Linked DNA regions of Homo sapiens: all the other regions are linked to region 3. Evidence: promoter capture Hi-C in 16 types of primary human blood cells and fetal thymus (Javierre and others, 2016). All regions are on one chromosome and are shown on one strand. The core of a region is centred on a gene start or on the middle of the fragment in contact, and the rest is flanking DNA. Distances in the headings are between cores, read along the strand shown.

Region 1 (3,359 bases), core at 559-3,058, 1.7 Mb before region 3:
ACGTGCCACCACGCCCAGGTAATTTTTGTATTTTTAATAGAGATGGGATGGCCGGGTGTGGTGGCTCACGCCTGTAATCCCAACACTTTGGGAGGCTGAGGTGGGTGGATCACCTGAGATCAGGAGTTTGAGACCAGCCTGGCCAACATCGTGAAACCCTGTCTCTACTAAAATTACAAAAATTAGCCAGGCGTGGTGGCAGGTGCCTGTAATCCCAGCTACTTGGGAGGCTGAGGCAGGAGAATTGCTTGAACTCGGGAGGCGGAGGTTGCAGTGAGCCGAGATGGCATCATTGCACTCCAGCCTGCGGAACAAGAGCAAGACTTCGTCACAAAAGAAAAAAAAAAATAGAGATAGGGTTTTGCCATGTTGCCCAGGATGGTCTTGAACTCCTGACCTCAGGTGATCCACCCACCTTGGCCTCTCAAAGTGCTGGAATTACAGGCGTGAGCCACCACTCCTGGCCCAAAAATGTTTTATCAGATTTTTGTGATCATTTGTTGGTGTTCCTCTCACCGGTTTGTAAGAGCTCTTTTTATATTATGGAAATCTATTTATAGCCTACCGATTTGAAATATCATTTTTATTTTATACCAAATTCTGATATGTCCTTTAGAAGTTTGAAGTTTTCTTTTTTAAGGTGCTTATGGAATGGCTAGTTCTAGTTTTTGAACCGTTAATATGGTGACTTGAGTTACTGGATCACATTAGATTGGATTTCCTAATATTGAATCATCCTTTTGGTCCAGCAATGGATCCCACTTGGTTATGATAGACTGTTCTGTTAATGTATTGCTGGATTGTATTTGCTAATCTTTTTGTTCAGGATTTTGGAATCAGTTAAATAGTAAATTGGTTTGTCTTTCTTTTTTTTTTCTGTACTATCCTTTTCTGGTTTTACTATCTCTGTCACAGTGTTCTCATTTTTTAGTGGAAGCTTTCCATTTCTCTTTGTGCCATGGATCAATTTAAATTAGATTGGAGTTACTTGTCTCTTAATGCATTAGTATATGGCACCTGTGAAATATCTGACCATAATGTTTTATCTAATTCAGTTATTCATTATTTCATTCATTCATATATTTTGACAATAGACCAGTTCTCAGACAACATTCTTCATTTGGTGTATCGGTTTGATTTTTTCTTTTCTTTCTTTCTTTCTTTCTTTCTTTTTTTTTTTTTTTTTTTTTTTTTTGAGGCAGAGTCTTCTGCTCTGTTGCCCAGGCTGGACTGCAGTGGTGCAATCTCAACTCACTGCAACCTCTGCCACCTGGGTTCAAGTGATTCTGCTGCCTCAGCCTCCAGAATAGCTGGGATTTACAGGTGCCTGCCACCACAACTGGCTAATTTTGTATTTTCAGTAGAGACGAGGTTTCACCACATTGGCCAGGCTGGTCTCAAACTCCTAACCTCTGGTGATCCGCCCGCCTCGGCCCCCAGAGTGCTGGGGTTACAGATGTGAGCCACTGCTCCTGGCCTGGTTTGATTTTCTGATACCCCTCAGGTCACTTTGGATGTATTTATGATCTTCTGTGTAATCATTGATTTCATAAGAGTTCTACATAGAATTAAGGAAAATAATATCTTGTACTTTAATATCTTTTGGTTCTATTATTTTTTTTCTTCATCTGGTTAGTCCATGTTGTTTTTCTGTATTCTAATTTCTGCTTCCTTGGTACTTTGCTTTAGTGTTGTTTGCTGCTGCTGTTGTGAATTTCCTGAGTTGAAAACTTGGTTTCTTTTTATTCTTTCAAAAATTCAAGGCTATTAATTATCCTCTTTGCATTGTGTTAGTCGCATGCTGCAGATTCTCATCTGCATTATTTTTATGTTATAGCTTGATATTCTGTGATTTCAGTTTTGGTTTCATTTTTTATCTAATATGTGTTGAGATTTTTTTTATTGTATAGGTGACTGGGTTTTAAATTTTTTATTTTTGTTCATATTTAGTTTTATTACATTGTAATCACAGAATGTTTTGTAGTACTTGTATTTTTTGATGTTTTCTTTGTGGTTTAATATGTAGTTGTTTTCATGAATTTTATGGGCATTTGAAAAGAAGATGCATTCTGTTTTCAGGGGATAAAGTTAAATGTATTTGTCCACTTGATCTGTCTTGGGCTGAAATCAGTGAATTGAAATCTTTTACTATATTGTGTTTATTTTTTCTTTATTTCCCCTTTTTTGGTTCTGCAAGTTTTTTTCTGTACTTAACTATTTGGTACATAAAAATTCAAGTTAGGTTTTTATTTTAGTTGTACCCTGTTTAAATTTCAGGGTTTTTTGTTGTTGTTGTTGAGACAGAGTCTTGCTCTGTGGCCCAGGCTGGAGTGCAGTGGTGCGATCTCGGCTCACTGCAACCTCTGCCTCCTGGGTTCAAGTGATTCTCCTGCCTCAGCCTCCCAAGTAGCTGGGATTACAGGCATGCATCACCACGCCCGGCTAATTTTTGTATTTTTAGTAGAGACGGGGTTTCACCATGTTGGCCAGGCTGGTCTCGAACTCCTGACCTCATGATCCTCCCACCTCGGCCTCCCAAAGTGCTGGGATTACAGGTGTGAGCCACTGTGCCTGGACAAATTTCGGTTATTTTACCTTGCAGTTAACCTCGTTTAATATTGTGAATCCTACTCTTTCTGTTCGCTTGCTACCTTTTGAGTTTTCCCATTCCTTTTCCTTCAAGCTTTCTAAATCACTTGATTTTAGATGCTTTTCCTCAGTGTAGTCTAGGATTGAGTTTTGCTATTAGATTTGGTATCATTGTTTCCTAATAGGTGAATTTAACCCACTTTCATTTACTGAAAATGACAGATACAATCTTATCTATTATTATTTCATATTATGCTTTCTGTTTTAAATGAATCCTTTTTTTAACCTTCTGCTATAGTTTAAAATTTTTTGGTGTGTTTATGTTTGTTACATAATTTTTAAGGTTTTATTTATTTACTTTTCCTTTTTTTTTTTTTTTTTTTTGAGTTAGAGTCTCACACTCTTGCCCAGGCTGGAGTACAGTGGTGTGATCTCGGCTCACTGCAACCTTTGCCTCCTGGGTTCAAGCGATTCACACACCTCAGCCTCCCGAGTAGCTGGGATTACAGACATATGTCACCACATCCAGCTAATTTTTGTATTTTTGGTAGAGACGGGGTTTTGCCATGTTGGCCAGGATGGTCTCGAATTCCTGAGATCATGTGATCCACCCGCCTCAGCATCCCGAAGTGCTGGGATTACGGGCGTGAGCCACGGCGCCCAGCCCTTAATCCTACATTTAAATAGGATTCAGCCAATCCTATTACCTGTTCCAGTGTCTTTATTAAACTCTTGGACTTTATTAAGAATAGTTCATGGAAACTATATTC
Region 2 (3,438 bases), core at 117-2,616, 1.7 Mb before region 3:
CAAGTTAGCCATCTCATACTCAAATTATTGTACAGTTCTATTTCTATGTGTTGGCAGTGCATTTTATGTGACAAAAAGTAGAATGTAGGGGGAGGTTTAAGTCAAATATCTATGTGATCTTTTCACTTATAATTTGCATTTAGTTAAGGAGTGACTATCTTGCCTTTTACCTTTGTGCTGGCGGTGGTTTTTTAAAGAATCAATTTGGTGTACAAATCCTTTCTTTCTTTTTTTATTTTTGATTTTTTTTGAGATGGAGTTTCGCTCTTGTTGCCCAGGCTGTAGTGCCATTGCACTATCTCAGCTCATTGCAACCTCCGCCTCCCGGATTTAAGCGGTTCTCCTGCCTCAGCCTTCTAAGTAGCTGCGATTACTGGCATGCGCCACCACACCCAGCTAATTTTTGTATTTTTAGTAGAGACGGGGTTTCTCCATGTTGGTCAGGCTGGTCTCAAACTCCCGACCTCAGGTGATCCACACGCCTCAGCCGCCCAAAGTGCTGGGATTACAGGCGTGAGCCTCCGCGCCCGGCCCAAATCTTTTCACCATGGGTTTACAGGCATAACGCCACCACACCCAGGGAATTTTAAAATTGTTTTTTAGAGAGGGGGGTCTTACTATTTTGCTCAGGCTGGCAAACTCCTTTTAAAAGATATTGAAAGCCATCTGGTTTATTATTTTTATTTCAAAATATAATAATGGAAGAAATTTTACAGTATTATATACAATTTACTGAGTCAGCTATCAGTTCCTTTTTCTGATTTTTTTCTAGTTGCCATTCTTGATATTTTCTAGGTAATCTAAACTGAGTTGTATTTTCAAGTACTCTTAAAATACTTTAAAAAATTTTAAATTGAGCCGTTTAATTCTTTGCTTAAAGGTGATGGGTATTTTATTTTCTGTATGGCACCACGTGATTTTAAATTGAACTCTTCATTTATTAGTCATTTGGTTATAAACTCAGCATAGATTGCGCAGAATTTTGAGAGGGGAGAAACTATAGCTTTCCTTTCGGATGCCACTGGTGGGTAGCCTGTTTTGCCTGTTTGTTCTTATGTTAAAGAAGGGCTCTACGTCCTGTCTGGAAAGGGCGGAGCTGGCTCGGACCGCCCCACTGCCTTTCCCAGGACCTTCACTCGTCCTGTCCCACCGCAGCCCCGCCTCCTCCACGCCGGGTGAGCTGTGGCCTAGCAGCATCCGAGGCTCCGCCCCCCCCACCCCCAAGCGTCTGCGCTCTAGCGAAGGGGCGGAGCAGGGCGGTGGCGCGCTGACACCTGGCGGCGGCGGAGGGCGGGCAGAAGGCGAGCGTGGGCTGGGATTGGCTGAGGCGACGCGGGTGGAGGGGGCGGGAAGGAGGCGGGGAGACGGTTGTCGGGCTGGTTCCTGTGCTGGATCCTGGGCGGCCTGAGGGGTACGGAGACTCTGGGGGAGGGAGACGGCAGCGGCATGGCGGCCGGGTGTAAGACGCCCGACCCTCCTCTTCCCTGTCTTCGCCGCCGCCGCTGCTGGAGTCACTGGGACCCTGTAGTCTGCGTGTGTTAGTTGTAATCCCGCCGCCCTCCTGTCAGCCCTCCGCTCCGCCGGCCCTCCTTCCTTCCGCCGCCGCAGCCAGCCCGAGGGTCGGCCGGCTGTGTAACACTCTCCCACCCCACCCACCAGCCCGCGGGCCAGCACCATGGAGGACGTGAAGCTGGAGTTCCCTTCCCTTCCACAGTGCAAGGAAGACGCCGAGGTGAGTCGCTCCCGTGGCTGCCACGCACAGGCCTCTCCCTGTGGCTCCGGCCGAGGGGCGACCCCAGTCCCCAACCGTCTTAGCCGCCACCTGTACGGGCGCCCTGCCTCCTAAGGGCGTCCCGGGACCTCTGAAGCCGAGCGGTCGGCTCCAATCCCCACTGAGTTGCTCGTCCTCTCCAGACCCCGCGGAGGGGCAGCGTCTGGTGTACTTACATTTGAGAAGAGGAAAAGCAATCCCTTAGTCCCTAGGCTTGGCATCCAGGACTGACCTGGAGTAAGGTTCCTCTTTTATTGTCAAAGTAACAAGAGAGCGAAGTTGGTTTAGTCTCCTTTTGAGGAATATCTGTGGTGTAAACGATTCACTTGTGGGACACATGGCCCCACATGTGAAATAGACTCGGCGCCTGAAGTTTGGAAGCGCGCCTTCGAAAAGTTTCCCAAAGTTTTTTGTTTGTTTTTAGACAAAGCTATGACCCGCACAACAAAGTGTCTCAAAGCTAGCTCATCTTAATCTGAGAACTCTTAATCAGAAATCTTGACCTTTGGAGGAAAATTAATATTGAAAGTAAAATACTATATACCTTTTCTCCTGGTTTCTAATTTGTGGCTATTTTTACTCCACCTTAGATCCCTGCCTGCTGTTTCTACTCGGATTTTTTTTCATCTGTTGCTAGTTTAACATTTTACGGCATTGCAGACTACTAAATTAGAATTTTCTGGAGGCTAAATTAACAAGACGAAGATACTCAGCTATACTTTAGTAGGATTAAGAAAGAAAATCTAACATCGCTAGTTAAAAATACCTTTAAAGTAGTTGGGAAAAATAAAGCCCTATTTTTAGGAGACCATTCAATTTATTCCGAATATTTATTCTATTGAATATCTTCATTGGAGGTTCACTTTTTTTTTTTTTTTTTTTTTGAGACGGAGTCTTGCTCTGTCGCCAGGCTGGAGTGCAATGTGGCGCGATCTCGGCTCACTGCAACCTCCGCCTTCCGGGTTCAAGCGATTCTCCTGCCTCAGCCTCCTGAGTAGCTGGAACTACAGGCGCGCACCACCACGCCCAGCTAATTTTTGTGTTTTTAGGGGAGACGGGTTTCACCATTTTGGCCAGGGTGGTCTCGATCTCCTGACCTTGTGATCCGCCCGACTCGGCCTCCCAAAGTGCTGAAATTGCAGGTATGAGCCACCGCGCCCGGCCTAGGTTCACATTTTTGTTTGGAGGGCTCTCTTGTGGTATTGATGCTTGACAATTACATTTGTTTTAAGAGTAGAGACTTTGTTTGTGACTATCACTGTTGCAAAATGTAGTGCAGTGGTGTGATCTCGGTTCACTGCAGTCTCGAACTCCCATGCTCAAGCCATCCTTTCACCTCAGCCTCTGGAGTAGCTGGGACCATGCCGGGCTAATTTTTCTTTTTTTTTTTTTTTGTAGCGATGGGTTTTTTCTCCAGGCTGGTCTCGAACTCTTGGCCTCAAGATCCTCCCGCCTTGTCCTCCGAAAGTGTTGGGATTACAGGTGTGAGCCACTGCACCTGGCCCAAGAATATACTCATGGTTTTTTTTTTTTTTTTTTTTTTGACACAGAGTTTCACTCTTGTTGCCCCAGGCTGGAGTGCAGTGGCGCTGTCTCAGCCCACCGCAGCCTCTGCCTCGGGTCCCGGTTCAAACAGTTCTCCTGCCTAAGCCTCCTGAGTAGCTGGG
Region 3 (3,380 bases), core at 687-3,186:
CCTACCCCACCACTCTAAGAATCCCCATCATCCCAGAAAAAAGGAATACCCATCAAGCAGAATGACTTAAAGCTACATCTACAGATGGAATGGAACCACACACTTTCTTTCTTTCTTTTTTTTTGTTTTTTTTTTGAGACGGAGTCTCCGCCCAGGATGGAGTGCAGTGGCGCCATCGCGGCTCACTGCAACCTCTGCCTCCTGGGTTCAAGTGATTCTCCTCCGCCTCAGCCTCCCGAGTAGCTGGGATTACAGGCGCCCACCACCATGCCCGGCTAATTTTTTTGTATTTTTAGTAGAGACGGGGTTTCACCATGTTGGCCAGGCTGGTCTCGAACTCCTGACCTCGTGATCCTCCCGCCTCGGCCTCCCAAAGTGCTGGGATTACAGGAGTGAGCCACCGCGCCCGGCCATGGAACCACACATTTTCATCAGAGGCCTACTAAGGTTGAGCTAGTCTGTATCCCAAATTATCTTAGGTATTGTTCTTCCATCAAAGCAGGGCTGAAGATGCTCTTCAAATTACTGCTCCTACTGACAAGCATTCTGAGGTAGCAGTTATTTCCGACACAGTTAATAGCCTACATAAGTATTCCTGATTACAATAAGCAGTCAGGTCCTAAAATAATTGTAAACATAATCACACTGCTTAGCAAAAAGGAATGGATTTGTGATATGCTTCCACTTTCGAGACTTTTTTGCACAAGACGCTGCTGCTGTTTAATCATTCTGCCCCTCCGTATGTTTCATAGAAATCCTTGTTACTGGCATGATGAAACCTGACTTAAAATCTACGTAAGAGTGAACGCGGTCATTCAAATTAAAAGCAACATTCCAGAAGGCACTGGAATATGGGGAAAAGAGAAGCAAGTATGAGATAAATTTTTAATGAATGATTTCCAGAAGGCTCTCAAGGCTTTTAATTTTGTGCTAAAGCAACAGAAATTCTTATCTCTGTAGAACTATGTCACAGGGAACTTACGACTTTTTCCTTAGAGGGACCAGTAAGGCTGTGCTTCCACCCTGCAATAGTGATGATGATGTGTGTAACAGAAATAAATACTGCCCCAGAAAAGCTTAAGGTTTCTGAGCATCTCAAAATCAAATGAAAACTCCCTCTACTAAATCAAGCAATCCTGAATATAAGGGTGGCTTGGAAAGCTGCCTGTTGAAACTCCAGCGGTCAAAGTATGATTTGGGGGGGAAACGCGCACATGCAATCAACAAAGTAATCAATTGAACTTGCATCAAAGTTCACCAGGAAACAACAATCTGGAAAAAGAGAAAAAAAGTGATTTGATTTGAAGAGCACCGAACAAGTGCTGAAAAGTAGAGTTGGAAATTCACCCTAAGTAGGTTACATTTTGGCCACAGTTCTGTGGAAACCCTAAAAGAAAGTCAATCTGTATTAACAAAAATTCGGAAAACTTCATTCACACTACGGCCGTCCCACCGCGCTGTCGACATCCTCCCCGGGAATGCAGGGCCGCGGGCCGGCAGAGGTCGGTGCGAACGCAGCGCGGAACCGCGGGCGCCCGCCTGGACCGCGGCCGCCCCATCCAGTAGGGGAGGAGTAGCGGTGCGCGCGGCCTGTGCCGAGGCAACGCGGGCGCGTCCACCTGGCGACTGCGCGCCCCGGCTCCTCCAGTACCCGCGGCCCCCAGACCCCTCGCCGCGCGGCCCGTGCCAGCCGGGCCGCATCCCCGACGCGCAAAGCCCCGGCGGCCGTGGCGGCCCGGACCGCGGGCCCGGGGCGAAAAGAGGCTGTGTTGCCGCCTCGCCCTCCTTTCCCCAGCCCCAGCTACTCACGTGCCAAATGGCGAAGAAGATGAGCGCGGCAGTGAGCAGCAGCGCCAGCATGTAGCAGAAGGCCGCGAACGTGAACGCCATGGCTGGGGAGGAGGAGCGGGGAGCGGCGCCGTTGCCAGCGGAGAAAGGCGGCGCAGGGCCCTCTGGGTAAAACCATTCACTTCCCCCGGCCACAGCCGCGACCGCCACCGCTACCGCCGCGGCGCCAGCCCTCTCAGCGCGCCTGCGCACCAGCCCAGCCGCCCCGGCGCCCTCTGATGGCCGGAGTCTGCGTTGCACTGACATTGTCCGCACAGTTGTTGATTGATTTTTCCTTCCTTCTTGCGTTTATTCTTTCAACAAATATTTATTGAATGAATGCCTAGTTTGTTACAGGTACCGCGCTTCTCGCTTCAGATACAAAGATGAATAAGATAGTACCTGCACTGAAAGAACTTAGTATAGTGCCGGAAATGAACACCTAAATAAATAATTACGTTATTATAACCCCGTAAACGGATGTGTGTGGGATGCTCTGAAAGGTCAAAGAAGGACAGCCAGCCCGCCCTGGAGCATTTAGGCAGGATTCCTGCTGTAGGTGTTTCCTAAGTTGGCCTTAGATGATGATAAGTTCTCCAGGCAAAAAGAAGGTAGAACTGGCAGTCCAAGGAAACAGTTCAGAATGAGGAAACGCAACAGAGATGGAAAAAAGAAAAGAAAAATAAAGCTTCGTGTCTCAGGTGAAACCAGCAGCAATTCTGTATTAATGGAACCTAAGTGCAAGACAGTGGTGAGACTTAGAAATGAATTAGCAAGGGATCAGATCATAGAGGGCCTTATAATGCTTCATTACGGAGCTCAGACTTCTTATCCCATAAGCCCAAATTTTTTGCTCACCACACACAACTAGAAAGATTTTTTTCATTGCAACCCAGTGGAATATCATACAGACATCAAGTTATGAAGAGGTGGAAATCTAGTTATAGAGGCAAAGAAATATAGATATGACCAAAACAAAAATTTCACAAAACTGTACTAATGATCCATAAGTACTTTCCCTTCTCTCTTTTGCTACTTGTTTTTAATGCTGGTCTTAACACACAAAATTGATTCAAAATTGATTTAACTTTCCATTACAACCATTTTTAAAAGAAAAAAACTCTATTAACTGATTGCTGCTGATGGAAGAGAAAATCATTGAAGGCTTTTGAGCAAAAGAAGACCATGTTTAGATTTGCATTAAAGATCGTTCACCTAGCAAATTGCGTAGAATAGTTTAGAAGCAGGGTCTGTCCAGTGCTGTGCAATAGAACCTTCTGTGATGGTGAAAATTTTCGATACCTAAACATTGCCCAATACAGTAGCCACTAGCCACATGTGGCCATTGGGCACTTGTAAATTGTCTAGCATGACTGAGGAACTGAACTTTAAATTTCACATCACTTTAAGTAAAATGTGGCTAGTGTATTGGACAGTACAACCTGTACCACCAGGATTATGTGGCACCTGTGTGCAAATTATCAAGTTACTTTTGGCCAGGCACAGCAGCTCATGCCTGTAATCCTAACACTTTGGGAGGCCAAGACAGGAGG
Region 4 (3,161 bases), core at 467-2,966, 1.3 Mb before region 3:
GAAATCCTGTCTCTACTAAAAAAAAATACAAAAAATTAGCTGGACGTGGTGGCGGGCACCTGTAGTCCCAGCCACTCGGGAGGCTGAGGCAGGAGAATGGCGTGAACCCGGGAGGCGGAGCTTGTAGTGAGCCGAGATCACGCCACTGCACTCCAGCCTGGGCTACAGAGCGAGACTCCGTCTTGGAAAAAAAAAAAAAGTACTTTCTGCTTTGCATTGAATGAATGTTTCTATTACTTTTAAGTGTGCTTATTTGGTTATTTTGAGAAGATTATCCTCTTGTGGTTCACTGGGGAAATGCCACACTCCTTTTAGGTAGAGTGATCATTTTTGAAGGAAATGTTGATTCTCAACACAACCCAGGTGGCAGAAGAAGGGAATCCTAGATTCTCTGCTGACCTGGTTATCTTGGTCTAGAGCCAGGTGTGTGTAATCTTTTGGCTTTCCTGGGCCACATCGGAAGAAGAAGAATTGTCTTGGGTCACACATAAAATACACTAACACTGATGATAGCTGATGAGCTTAAAAAATCACGAAAAAATCTCGTACTGTTTTAAGAAAGTTTATGAATTTGTGTTGGGCCACATTCAAAGCCATCCTGGGCTGCATATGGCCCATGGGCTGCAGGTTGGGCAAGCTTGGTCTAGACCTTGTTGAGGGGAGATGTCAATCAACATTTGTGGGCTGAGATTGCTTCTGCCCCTTGGAAGTGAGCTTGGGCTATGGCAGACCCATATACTGGGTCCCAGGCTGACAGTGCTCAGAAGATATTTGAGAGCACAATATCTAACTTCATGTGACTGCATGTGTTTATTTCCTTTTTACTCCCTAGCCATCATAGCAAGGCAAAGGTCATGATGTTGTTTTTCTCAACTTTTCTGCTTTAAAAAGTCATGTTTTATCTAATGCCTCCTGTTCCTGCTCTCCTTTTGTTTTCTAGATCATCTTCTCAGGTAATATGATCCTGACCAGAGGGAGATGGGTTGGGGCATCTATTCTAGTCCCCACCTGCCAGAATAGGTGTCAGGTGGCTCCTCACCACTCTACATCATTAGTGTGTACAATGGACACAGCATTATCTGAACTTCCATGGCTCTATGTAAAGCATTCCATTGTATTTTAATAATTACGCAAGACAAGGCCTCTTTCACATAAGGCAAATAAGTGTGATTGATTCAGACTTCTGGCATTACTGGGCCATGCTGCCGCAAGAAACAGGTGCATGTGGAATCAAGCCTGACGGAGTTATTGGTGTGCAGAAAAAAAAAAAGGTAAGCCAGTTGGTTTGTACTACAAAAGACTAAAACAGCTCGTCTGTGTATCCTACCACCTTCCTGTCCCCATTAGGCATATGGCAAGAGCTATCTGGTAACAACGGCCATCTCCTCCCGCGTCTCAAAGATGTTTTCGTGCAATTGTGTGCTGTCTTTCCCTTTTCTTCTTTTCTTAAAGTTTGTCCCTGTTATTCATTTTATTATTTTAGAGATAGGGTCTTGCTGTTGCCCGGGTGAAGTATAGTAGGCCAATCCTAGCTCACTGCAGCCTTGAACTCCTGGCCTCAAGTAATCCTCCTGCTGCAGCCTCCCCAGTAGCTAGTATTACAGGCACAAGCCACCATGTTGTTCATTTTAACCTGTCTTCACGTTTGTAACATTAGGGAATGCTTGATGCCAAGTAATTTATCCTGAGCCAACATCCCACACCTGCACTTGAAATAGCTTCATCCAAAGTGTATGATGGAAGACCCCTATTTAGAATGAAAGAAAGAGGGCAGACATAACCATGCCCCCATCTGCTGTATCTCGTGTTCGATAAGCCATCCACCACAACTTAAATTTTATTTCACTTTTTATTTTTAGGATTACTACTTATCTGGTTTTTAAAGATGAGAGTGTTTTATCTGATGCCCTGACCAAATGAAACAACAACCTAGACTGAAGCAGGGAACATTCGCTGGACATTTCAGGCACTGTGCTAGGCTCTACAGTGAAGCATTCACAGTCTAGTGGTGTCTATAAATAAAACCAAAATGCTAACTTTTAAATTCCTATGAGGAATATAATTGTAATGCCACTATAGCTGCATCACTACCATGGGGTCATTCTCTCCCTACAGACAGATCAATAAACAAAATCAAATTACAATCCAAAGGAAGCAAGGTGGGCAGAAATAACGTAGGGATTCATGATGAATAAAGTCATTAATCCTTCCATTTATTCATTCAACAAATATTTATTGTCTAGTGCTATTGTGTTTTTATTTTTAACTGAAATTACACTTAAAATTTAGAATTATGAAATGCATTTATTTAAAGATTTATAAGAGGCCTATCCACAAAACCATACTTACCAAAACCCTATAAAAATGTTTTCTATTCCTTTTGGAAATAAAGGTCAGTGGTGGTGAAGGTATATATTCAAATGAAAGAAAGTATAAATCAATACAACATTGATGCATACTCTGTGGAGGCAGCCACAAAATCCTCATCAGCTTGTTTATATCAGACAGATTTGGCCATCTTCCTGCCCTTTCATTATAGAAAAGTGAGTTGGGCCATAGCTATTGGCTGCTGTGAGGCCCACATTATGCACCCATTGTAGATGTATTTAATGACTTCTGCGCTCTAGGATTTTTTCCTACCTCCACAGGTAAGTTGAAAGTACATATTTGTTCACAGACTCATATGAGCCTTCAATAAAAAGTAATTGATAATCATAATATGGTGCTGAGCAAGACTTAGAGGCAGCACCTTGCGTATGTGTATTGTCATATATAAGTTAAAAAGGAAAGAAAAGAGAAGCTTTGTTCCAATAAGGATTTATTTCCACTAATGTAACTGTCAGTAATTTGCTGAGCATTTAAAAGACTGAACAGCAGAATTGATTTACTGTTTTTGCAACTGCTGCTTAAAAAAGTATGTTTATCCTTACATCATAAGTCAGCAACTCATTTAAAGTTTCAGCTTGAATAAAATATGATTCTAGGCCGGGTACGGTGGCTCACGCCTGTAATCCCAGCACTTTGGGAGGCCAAGGCGGGTGGATCACAAGGTCAGGAGTTCGAGACCAGCCTGCCCAACATGGTGAAACCCCATCTCTACTAAAAATACAAAATTAACTGGTCGCGGTGGTGCGTGCTTGTAATCCCAGCTGCTCGGGAGA
Region 5 (3,125 bases), core at 1-2,500, 1.9 Mb before region 3:
GGGCAAAGCATATGACAAAGGCCAGCCTGGACAATATAGTGAAACCTCGTCTCTACCAAAAAAAAAAAAAAAATCAGCCGGGCATGGTGGCTCCAGTGCCTGTAGTCCCAGCTACTTGGGAGGCTGAGGTGGGAGGACTGCTTGTGCCCAGGAGGTGGAGGTTTGTAGTGAACTGTCACTACAGCCTGGGCGACAGAGCGAGACCCTGCATGAAAAAAAGGAAAAAAAAAAAAAAAAGCATAGGACAAAGGATGGTGAGGTAAGAAAAGCTGGGTCTTTGTTGCTCCAATAAACGTAGCAATGTCTTTCACAAGGATACTGAATTCGTAATGTGCTGTGTATTCTAAAGAAAACAAATTATTTCCTTTTAATTTTGCACTACTTGCTAATCTTATTTCCAAATAGGAAAAAAAAAAGTCAACAACTATGTGCCGGCCCAATATACGTTAGTCGATCTGATTATTCCTCGGTTCTTCACAGCAGTAACACAGCATGTATTTTCTCTCTCAGGCCCAGGAATAGCGCCACCATCTACCATACACAGGTCCAAGGCTTCGATACATGTGGAATTTAAACAGTACAGAATATTCTACTTCCTCTCCAGGCAATCATCATACTTACAAGTCTGTTTCTGCCTTTTTCCCAAAACTTAAGCCCAGAGCATCTTCCCAAATTCTACGTTTGAAAGAACCAGCTTCCCCCTGCTCACAGATCGCTTCAACATCCATCTGATACTACTACTACTCTTCCTTAAGAGACATTTCCCTTGGCCTTGGGAGGAAAGGGTCTTTCACTTAAGAGCTCCGATTCTCCCCGTCGCCCCTTTCCATCCCCTCGACCCACAAAGGGCTCCGGTGTTTCCCGCCGTTCATGCAGCGAAAAGAGAAAGCAAAATGCCCTCAGGAGGCTCCAGGTGAGGCCCTTCGGTGCCCCAGAGACGGGTGTCTTAAGTCAGACTCCGGAGCTGTGCAGTGCAGCCCTGGCTACAGAAAGCTGCTTCGTCTGAATCCCCGGGTCTGCAGGCAGAGCCCACAGCCTGAAGGGCCAGCGCTGTCACCTACCTGCCCGGGACCTGCGGGCGGGGACCTGGGCCGTTCCCGAGGCCGCGCGGCCAACAGTTCCCGCCGCCACGCGACGGAGGAGGAGGCAGAAGACGGGGCCGTGCCAGACTAGCCGGGTAGCCTGGAACCACTTCGCCAACCTGCAAAGGCGTAGCACTTCTCCCTCCCAGCCTGCAGCCGCCACCGACTCGGCGGAGTCGGCCTCCTGGGAAAAAACAACCTGCGAAGCTCCTCCTTCTCCTCGTGCTCCCTACGCGAGGCACTCTCTAACCAATGGGAAACGTGGTGGGCGGAGCGAGAGTGACAGACGATTACAGAGTCCTCCCGCCGGCGCGAACGGGCGGTGCAGTAGCAGGGCCAATCAGCAGCGTGGGTGGGAAGTACAGGGGCGGGAGAAAGTAGGGAAATTACGCGCCCAATCAGATCTCGGGGCCCTCGAGCGACGGGTCCTGCGGCCCGTGGCCTTCCGAGCGCGGCGCTCAGGGGGCGTGCCTGCCTGGGCCAATCGGCGCGAGCCCACAGTGCGGAGCGAGCGCCTCAAATGCTCGGGTTTCTCAGCTGATTGTCTCCAGCCGAGAGTTGTTTTTTGCAGCTACGGAGCCGAGCCGCAGCAGGAGGAGCCGAGACCCCCGGGGGGTGGGGGGAAAGAGGAGGCGGGGTCCGGGGGAGCCGCGGCTGCTTTGCGCTGGACTCCGGGTCCCGTCACGGCGCTTCCTGGGGTTAGAGGCTGGGGTGGGTGGGGGGTAAGGGGGCAGTCCTTCTCCCCTTCGACGGCGGCTCCGAGTCCAGCCCCTTCCTTCCCGCGCTCGCTCGCCCGGCCCCCAGCCCCCTCATGAGGGTGTCCGTGCCGGGTCCGGCGGCCGCTGCCGCCCCCGCAGCCGGCCGCGAGCCCTCCACGCCCGGCGGGGGCAGCGGAGGCGGAGGCGCCGTCGCTGCAGCCTCAGGCGCCGCGGTGCCGGGCTCCGTGCAGTTGGCGCTGAGCGTCCTGCACGCCCTGCTCTACGCCGCGCTGTTCGCCTTTGCCTACCTGCAGCTGTGGCGGCTGCTCCTGTACCGCGAGCGGCGGCTGAGTTACCAGAGCCTCTGCCTCTTCCTCTGTCTCCTGTGGGCAGCGCTCAGGACCACCCTCTTCTCCGCCGCCTTCTCGCTCAGCGGCTCCCTGCCCTTGCTCCGGCCGCCCGCTCACCTGCACTTCTTCCCCCACTGGCTGCTCTACTGCTTCCCCTCCTGTCTCCAGTTCTCCACGCTCTGTCTCCTCAACCTCTACCTGGCGGAGGTAAGGCGGGAGGGCCGGCATGCGGGGCCCGGGCGGGTGCGCGGGGCCGCCGGGATCAACTCCCGCTGAGGACCAGCGGGGGCGGGGGGTGGGCAGCGAGAGGCGGACTGGAAACCAGCCTGGGGAAACTGAGGCACACCTGGAGTGTGAGCCAGTGTTTTCGCCTTAAACTTAAGTGGCTGATTGGCTTGATTACTGAGGGGTTCGGGCTAGGGGGTGAGTGAGTGAGTGTGTGTGTCTGACAACTTAAAACAGCAACGGAACGAACCCTTTGTTCGGTGTTCTGGCCCTCCGAGGTAAGGCGTTGGTGGCACCAACAAAGTGGCATCGCAAGAAGTAGCAGCCCCGGTGGCTCTGCCGAAGCCGGACTGTGTTGAGGGAGGTTGGATGCTGAGGTAGCAGCAGCTCTGCTGAAGCTGGACTGCTGCCAGCCATTACGTCACCAGGCAGAGCTGTTCCTCTGCTATTGTTGCTGCGTTTCTTTTATTAGAAGCTTATATTCCCTCCTGCATCTCCTTTCCTGTGGCTCGATAAGCCTCACATAAATTTCGTTCGATAGTTCCCCAGCAGGGTTGATGATCAATAACCAATGCTGAGGATCAGGATAAGGACCTCCATAAAGCCCTTAATGTTTGCCCCAGTTGCTTCGTGCTTTAGCGGTTTATCCTACCTCCTATTAGCATAGTCTTTTTTGGAGCTAATTAAGAGAAAAAAATACTAGCTTAACCTGTGCCTATTGCAGAAACAAAACCACCAAACTGTTTTTGCAATAACTTGCTTAATATCTG
Region 6 (3,082 bases), core at 458-2,957, 1.7 Mb after region 3:
AGCAGCAACAGAGGAGGCCTAGAGAAGCTAGGGTGACAGAGGCAGGCATCATCGTAATCGTGACGGCGCAACTGCAGAATGATTCTGACAGATCTTTGATAGTCATACAATCTATGTGGTAAGTAGATGCACAGAGTACATGAAGACAACATTAATCCAGCAGAAATTTGAAAGAAATTTACATCAACACTGGGGAGGAGACATGATTTATCCCTTTAGTGAAGGAGTGCTGGTTAAAACTGTAACAGATTTTTTATTACATATAAAAAATATAGAGAATACGTAATATATGCAGAATAACTAATATTCATTTGAAATACAGAATTTCTATAGTTAGCTGAAATAAGTTAACTGTTTAATAAAGTTTATTTTTGGCTTACCAGTGGTGTGGCTTTAGTTACTTTGGAATAATTTATTTCTAAAACCTCAATTAAAAAAATCAGTTCCTAACTGAAGTAAAATTATCAGAAACATCATGTCACTACCGTAATAACCTGTCAGAGAATGTTACACAAGGGGTGCAGCACAGCGGAATGGAAGGTTACAGATGCAATTATTATTTTTTCTAGCCCTTTGCTTCGGGTCATAGCCAACCAGTCACTATACACAGGGTAGCTTCTGCAGTATTTATTTCTTTAAATATTTAACAGTGTTGAGAGGCAATGACTCGCAATAATATGTAGAGTTTCTAGCACATTATGAGTGCTTAATAAATGTTAGAACAATAAAATCCTGTATGATGAAAAACAGCAGTCAGTAAAACTATACAGTCTACGATATTTTAAAGCCATAGCAATAACTAGTTTAAAAAGAATAGAAAGCAAACAGTGCATTGATTAAATCACGGTCATAAAGGAACATTTACGTTCACTAAAAAGTCCACCCAGGTAATTTCCCCTTGTATGTATTAGGGGATGGAAAGAAGGCACAGGAAAAGTGGATAAAGTATGGATTAAAAAACAACTCTTCCCCCATCCCCCCGCCACCCCCCAAAAGCCAGGTGGAGCTCTATTGACCACAAGCCGGGGTAGCTACATCCAGTGCAACGGTGGGGTGCTCCAAGCGCCTTCGAAACGTCCTCTACGCCAGCACCAACTGGCAAAACCTTCTAATTTTCTAGACGCCTTTCTGCTTGGTTTTGGAAGGGGAGGCACCCAAGTGGGTGTGTGCGACACCTCTAGTTGTAAGCCGGGACACAGTGACGTCGAGAGAGCGCTATTCTACTCGGAGAGGAAGTTAATCCCATCGAACTCCAGCCAGGAAAACGTGGGCTTGGGAACCGCGGCCGCTCGTTTCCAGGATCTCCCGCGGGCCTTCGCGGCTGAAGAACCAGGCGGCGAGGGCTGAGGACCCCGCGCTCTAAGTTTGGGGAAGGAAGTGAGGAAAAAAAACAGAGCTGCTCCTTTAAGAACTTCCTTTCCCTTTTACTCTATGTTTACATAACACAGGGGCCGAGCCTCCGCCGGGCCGAGGGGGGCGGGGAGTGGGCGCGGACGGCCCCACGCGCCGGGGGAGGGGGCGCCCCGCGGGCCGGGGGCGGGCGCCTGGCTCTGCGTGGGGCGGGGCGGCTCCCACCTGCCCGCGCGCTGGCCCCCGCCTCCCCCGCGCGGCCCCAGCCTCTCGTGCGCCCGCTCCCTCCTCCTTCCCTCCCTCCCGCGGGGCTTCGGCGGCGGCGCTCAGCGCAGGCAGGTCCCCCTGCTGCCGGGTCCCATTTGTTGCCGGCTCTGACTCGGGGCGGCCGCGGCGCGCGGAGCTCCGGGGAGTCAGGCGGAGCAGCCGCGCAGCCACGACGGAGCAGCAGCGGGACTGGCCGCCCCGCGCCCCCTTCGCCGCCGTGCCCTTCCCCGGCGCGCTCACCCCGTTCTCGGGATGGGATTGTAGCGGCGGCGCGGACTCGGCGGGGATCGCGGCGGAGGCGGCGGCGTCGGCGGCGGCGTCGGCGGCCGAGCGGGGCTCCATGTTTTCCCCTGGCCAGGAGGAACACTGCGCCCCCAATAAGGAGCCAGTGAAATACGGGGAGCTGGTGGTGCTCGGGTGAGTCCTGGGGTCCCTGGTCCCGGGCAGCGGCGCGGGCGGGGAGCGCCCGCATCCTGGAGCGGGGCTGGCGGGGTGGCTCGGTGCTCTTTGGGGACCGCCGGGGCGCTCGGGGCGGCAGGAGAGGCTCTCAGGGCCCGGACGGCGGCGCGGGGGCGGGATGCGCCCCATCGGCGCGCGCTCGGGGTGCTGCGGCGGACGCCGGGCTGCGCTGTCCGCGCGGAGGACGCGGCGGAGGAAGTGGCCAGAACTCGGGCGACCCAGCGGGGGCAGCGCCGGGCACCGGGTCCGCGGCCGTATCGTGGGGGCGGGGGCAGGGGCTCCACTTCCCGCGCGCCGCGTCCGGGCCGGGGAGGGCGGGCAGGGACTCCATGTGAGGCGCCGCGGTCGCGGGCGCTTCGCGGGGTCGCTTCCCGAAGCTGAGAGGCCGGCCGGCGCGGAGCCCCGTCTTCCCACCTCCCTCGCGGACCGTGGTACCCGCGCCCCCGAACTCCGAGCGCGGCGCCGTGAGCTTGGGCCGCCGCGGGCTGTGGGATCCCCGGCTGCGCTTTGCAAATTGTTCCGATGACCGCCGCGGGCCGCCGCAGCCCGAGAGCAGTGAACTGTGTGTGACCCGGGCCGGCCGGCCCTCCGCTTCTCCCCGCTTGGAGTGCTCTGGAGGGGAGGGACAGGATGCGGCTGCTCGGGGCCTGGCACCGGGGCGCGGGCCGTATCCCCCCGGTCCCGGCCTCGCTGATGCCCTCCCGGCTGCGGGGAGCTCGCCAGCCTCGCCCGCCTCGGCTCCCTCTCTGCTGGTGAAAGCCGCATCTTGAAGATAGTAATTATGTACAATCGTTAAACGGCAGCAATTAGAGACTTCATCTACTTCCTGAGTTTCCTTGTGACATTTCTATTGTTTACCCTTAATAAGCCAGGAGAGAGGCTTTGCGGGCTTAAAACTGGATATAGTGGGCAGTGAAAGGGGAGGGGGAAGGGGGAAGTGCAGGAAACTGGGGGGAAGGAACAACTTGGGTTTAGTGTTGAAGAAAGGATTATTTTTTCCTTTGGA
Region 7 (3,092 bases), core at 440-2,939, 1.7 Mb before region 3:
CAGACCCAGGTCATGTTCTCCCTGTCTTAAGTCGTCTTCCTGGTTTCCTCCTAACCCAGTTCCAGTCTCTCAATGATTTCAATTCAGTAAACTTACTCTGTGACAAGCTGAGCTTGACATTTGGGATACAAAGATGTATAAGGTCCAGTTCCTACACTTGGAGAGACATCCATGGAACTTAGTATGTACTTTTTAAAAAATATTTAATTGACAAATAATAATTGTGTATATTTATAGGATACAATGGGATGTTTTGATCTATGCATACATTGTAGAAAGATTAAATAAAGCTTATTAACAGATACATTGCCTCACCAACTTTTCATTTTTCATTGATGAGAACATTAAAAAATTATTCTTTTAGCAATTTTGCAATTCTTATTAACTGTGGTCACCATGCAGTGCATTAGATCACTAAAACTTATTCCTGCAGTCTAACTGAAACTTTGCACTTTGACCAACATCTCCCCTTTCCCCATCCTCCCTGCCCACCGGCCTCTGGTGACTACCTTTCTACTGTTTCTATGAGATAAACTTTTTTAGATTCCACATGTAAGTGAGATTATGTGGTAATTGTTTTCTTGTGCCTGGCTTATTTCACTTGGTATCATGGCCTCTAGGTTAATCCATATTGTCACAAATTACAGAATTTCCTTTTTTTTTTTTTTTTTGAGACGGAGTCTCGCTCTGTCACCCAGCCTGGAGTGCAGTGGCACGATCTCGCTCACTGCAAGCTCCGCCTCCCGGGTTCACGCCATTCTCCTGCCTCAGCCTCCCAAGTAGCTGGGACTACAGGCGCGCCCGCCACCACTCCCGGCTAATTTTTTTGTATTTTTAGTAGACACGGGATTTCACCATGTTAGCCAGGATGGTCTCGATCTCCTGACCTCGTGATCCGCCCGCCTCGGCCTCCCAAAGTACTGGGAATAATTTCCTTCTTTATGGCTGTATAGTAGGCATATATATACAAGATTCTCTTTATCCATTCATCTGTCGATGAACACTTAGGTTGTTCCTATATCTTGGCTATTGTAAATAATGCAGAAATGAACATGGGAGTATAAGAAACAAATCAATGTTATGAAAATAGTCTGATTTTTAAAAAGCAGCAAAGGTTCTGAACAGTTATTTTTCAAAAAAAGACATACAAATAGCCAACAGGTATAGGAAAAAAATGCTTAATATCTCTAATCATCAGGGAAATGCAAATTAAAGACACAATGAGATGTCACCTTACACCTGTTAGAATGGCTATTGCCAAAATGATGAATGATAACAGGTGCTGGAAAGGATGTGGAAAAATGGAAACACTTGTACACTGTTGGTGGGAATGTAAATTAGTACAGCCATTTTGAAAAATAGTATGGAGGTTCCTCAAAAAACTAAAAATAGGCCGGGCACGGTGGCTCACACCTGTAATCCCAGCACTTTGGGAGGCCGAGGCAGGCAGATCATGAGGCCAGGAGATGGAGACCATCCTGGCTAACACGGTGAAACCCCGTCCCTACTAAAAATACAAAAATTAGCTGGGCGTGGCAGCACGTGCCTGTAGTCCCAGCTACTCTGGAGGCTAAGGCAGGAGAATTGCTTGCACCTGGAAGACAGAGGTTACAGTGAACCGAGATCGCGCCACTGCACTCCAGCCTGGGCAACAGAGCGAGACTCCATCTCACAAAACAAAGCAGACAAAAAAAAAACACACACACAACTAAAAATAGAATTACCATATGATCCAGCAATCCCACTTCTGGGTGTATATACAAAGGTATTAAAATTGGCGTGTCAGACTGGGCATGGTGGCTCACGCCTGACCCAGCACTTTGGGAAGCTGAGGCGGGCAGATCATTTGAGGTCAGGAGTTCAAGACCAGCCGGACCAACATGGTGAAACCCCGTCTACACTAAAAATACAAAAAATTAGCCAGGCATGGTGGTGTGTGCCTGTAGTCTCAGCTACACGGGAGGCTGAGGTGAGAGAATTTCTAGAACCTGGGAGGCGGAGGTTGCAGTGAGCTGAGATCATGCCATTGTACTCCAGCCTGGGTGACAGAGCGAGACTCTGTCTTAAAAATAAAAATAAAATTTGTATGTCAAAGAAATATCTGCACTCCCATGTTCATTTCAGCATTAGTATATAATCTTTTATGATATTTTCTACTTCATATTTCTTCACTGAATTGTAACATCTTTAAACTTCTTGAGCAGGGATTGTGTTTCAAATGTCCCTGAGACTCCCAGAGATCCTTAACAAGGATCTTGTCTTTGTACATGTTCGTGGAATAAATGAAAATCTTTCACTGGCCACAGTACTAATAAATGAAGATTAGGCCATCAAAAATGAGAAACACAATAAGAAAAGAGGAAATTAATAAAGCCTATGATTTTAGAAGGAAGCAATCTGAATATGAATCAGCTTAACATTTTACCCTAATGCAATGACCTGTAACCTGGGGGAGCTTAAAAATGTCAGTGTTCTCATGATAGAAATTATTTTCCATAAAACTCAAACTCTTTCCCAGAATAAATTTCTAGCAAACTTAGAAAAAGTATCCACTTTTTTTACCTTATTGTCTAGATAATTATAATGTTTTGTTTCAGATTTGTAAGCGATTTTAGAATAAGTAAATACAGTTTTATGTGTGTGATGTGAATATCACTGAAGTGTCCATGAGAATCTTTCAGGCCAGAAGGAAACTCCCTTTGCATGAGTTTGCTTCTTCAAATATACCTGCTCAGGCAATCGTCTCACCTGTGTTAGAGGCCATGAAATCACTGATTAGTCATTCATTAACTATTTAAAGAGCACCCACAGGGTACATAGATCAACCTTTGATTTCTGAAAGCCCAACTTCCCATTCATTACAACTTTGCTAAACAACATTAAATTTTTTAGAGATGAACAAGGTCACAAACTTGTTTTTCTAATACTAGTGATTATAACAATAACATGACTTAGATTTAATGCACACAGCATTTCCTGATGGAATTCTGATTACTGTGTAAATAACAGCGACTATTTTTTTTTTTATGACCAAAGCAGGAAATGGCTTGAGTCCAGTGTCTCAAAATGGTATGTGGGGATTTCTGTGGGAA

The links. Contacts are between HindIII fragments. The CHiCAGO score rates a contact against its expected background, and 5 or more counts as called.
Region 1: a contact is called between a fragment that was not itself captured here and the fragment with the promoter of CNIH1 in region 3, in 1 of 17 cell types (M1 macrophages). The highest score is 5.8, in M1 macrophages.
Region 2: the fragment with the promoter of STYX here is called in contact with the fragment with the promoter of CNIH1 in region 3 in 1 of 17 cell types (M1 macrophages); the score reaches 6.2 in M1 macrophages.
Region 4: a fragment that was not itself captured here is called in contact with the fragment with the promoter of CNIH1 in region 3 in 3 of 17 cell types (M1 macrophages, M2 macrophages and fetal thymus); the score reaches 9.0 in M1 macrophages.
Region 5: a contact is called between the fragment with the promoter of TXNDC16 here and the fragment with the promoter of CNIH1 in region 3, in 1 of 17 cell types (neutrophils). The highest score is 6.3, in neutrophils.
Region 6: the fragment with the promoter of PELI2 here is called in contact with the fragment with the promoter of CNIH1 in region 3 in 1 of 17 cell types (non-activated CD4 T cells); the score reaches 7.1 in non-activated CD4 T cells.
Region 7: a contact is called between a fragment that was not itself captured here and the fragment with the promoter of CNIH1 in region 3, in 3 of 17 cell types (M2 macrophages, M1 macrophages and neutrophils). The highest score is 9.1, in M2 macrophages.

What each region holds. Positions count from the first base shown.
Region 1 is chr14:52,761,714-52,765,072 of GRCh38, forward strand. All of the region lies in intron 9 of STYX (serine/threonine/tyrosine interacting protein), which reads left to right. Among named protein-coding and RNA genes, the nearest start is that of GNPNAT1, 28 kb to the right of the region's middle. The HindIII fragment of the contact is 1,746 bases long and covers 936-2,681 here.
Region 2 is chr14:52,728,800-52,732,237 of GRCh38, forward strand. It overlaps STYX (serine/threonine/tyrosine interacting protein), which reads left to right and starts at 1,367. Exons shown (of 11, transcript NM_145251.4): 1 at 1,367-1,732. The coding sequence starts at 1,676. RefSeq lists silencers at 1,052-1,511, 1,582-1,661. The HindIII fragment of the contact is 7,384 bases long and covers 1-3,438 here.
Region 3 is chr14:54,439,438-54,442,817 of GRCh38, forward strand. CNIH1 (cornichon family member 1) reads right to left here and starts at 1,937. Exons shown (of 5, transcript NM_005776.3): 1 at 1,810-1,937. The coding sequence starts at 1,890. RefSeq lists silencers at 1,411-1,460, 1,471-1,830, 1,871-2,140 and enhancers at 1,546-2,344, 2,221-2,280. The HindIII fragment of the contact is 1,439 bases long and covers 1,075-2,513 here.
Region 4 is chr14:53,155,303-53,158,463 of GRCh38, forward strand. It overlaps DDHD1-DT (DDHD1 divergent transcript), which reads left to right. Exons shown (of 3, transcript NR_110062.1): 2 at 941-1,271; 3 at 1,860-2,226. Among named protein-coding and RNA genes, the nearest start is that of DDHD1-DT, 3.5 kb to the left of the region's middle. The HindIII fragment of the contact is 2,163 bases long and covers 636-2,798 here.
Region 5 is chr14:52,551,255-52,554,379 of GRCh38, forward strand. It overlaps TXNDC16 (thioredoxin domain containing 16), which reads right to left and starts at 1,251. Exons shown (of 21, transcript NM_020784.3): 1 at 1,062-1,251. GPR137C (G protein-coupled receptor 137C) reads left to right here and starts at 1,582. Exons shown (of 7, transcript NM_001099652.2): 1 at 1,582-2,337. The coding sequence starts at 1,894. RefSeq lists silencers at 1,772-1,841, 1,852-2,051. The HindIII fragment of the contact is 4,024 bases long and covers 1-2,828 here.
Region 6 is chr14:56,116,704-56,119,785 of GRCh38, forward strand. PELI2 (pellino E3 ubiquitin protein ligase family member 2) reads left to right here and starts at 1,708. Exons shown (of 6, transcript NM_021255.3): 1 at 1,708-2,034. The coding sequence starts at 1,958. RefSeq lists an enhancer at 1,096-1,335 and silencers at 1,466-1,525, 1,566-1,825, 2,116-2,185. The HindIII fragment of the contact is 3,737 bases long and covers 1-3,082 here.
Region 7 is chr14:52,698,016-52,701,107 of GRCh38, forward strand. No RefSeq gene overlaps it. Among named protein-coding and RNA genes, the nearest start is that of ERO1A, 4.0 kb to the left of the region's middle. The HindIII fragment of the contact is 2,803 bases long and covers 289-3,091 here.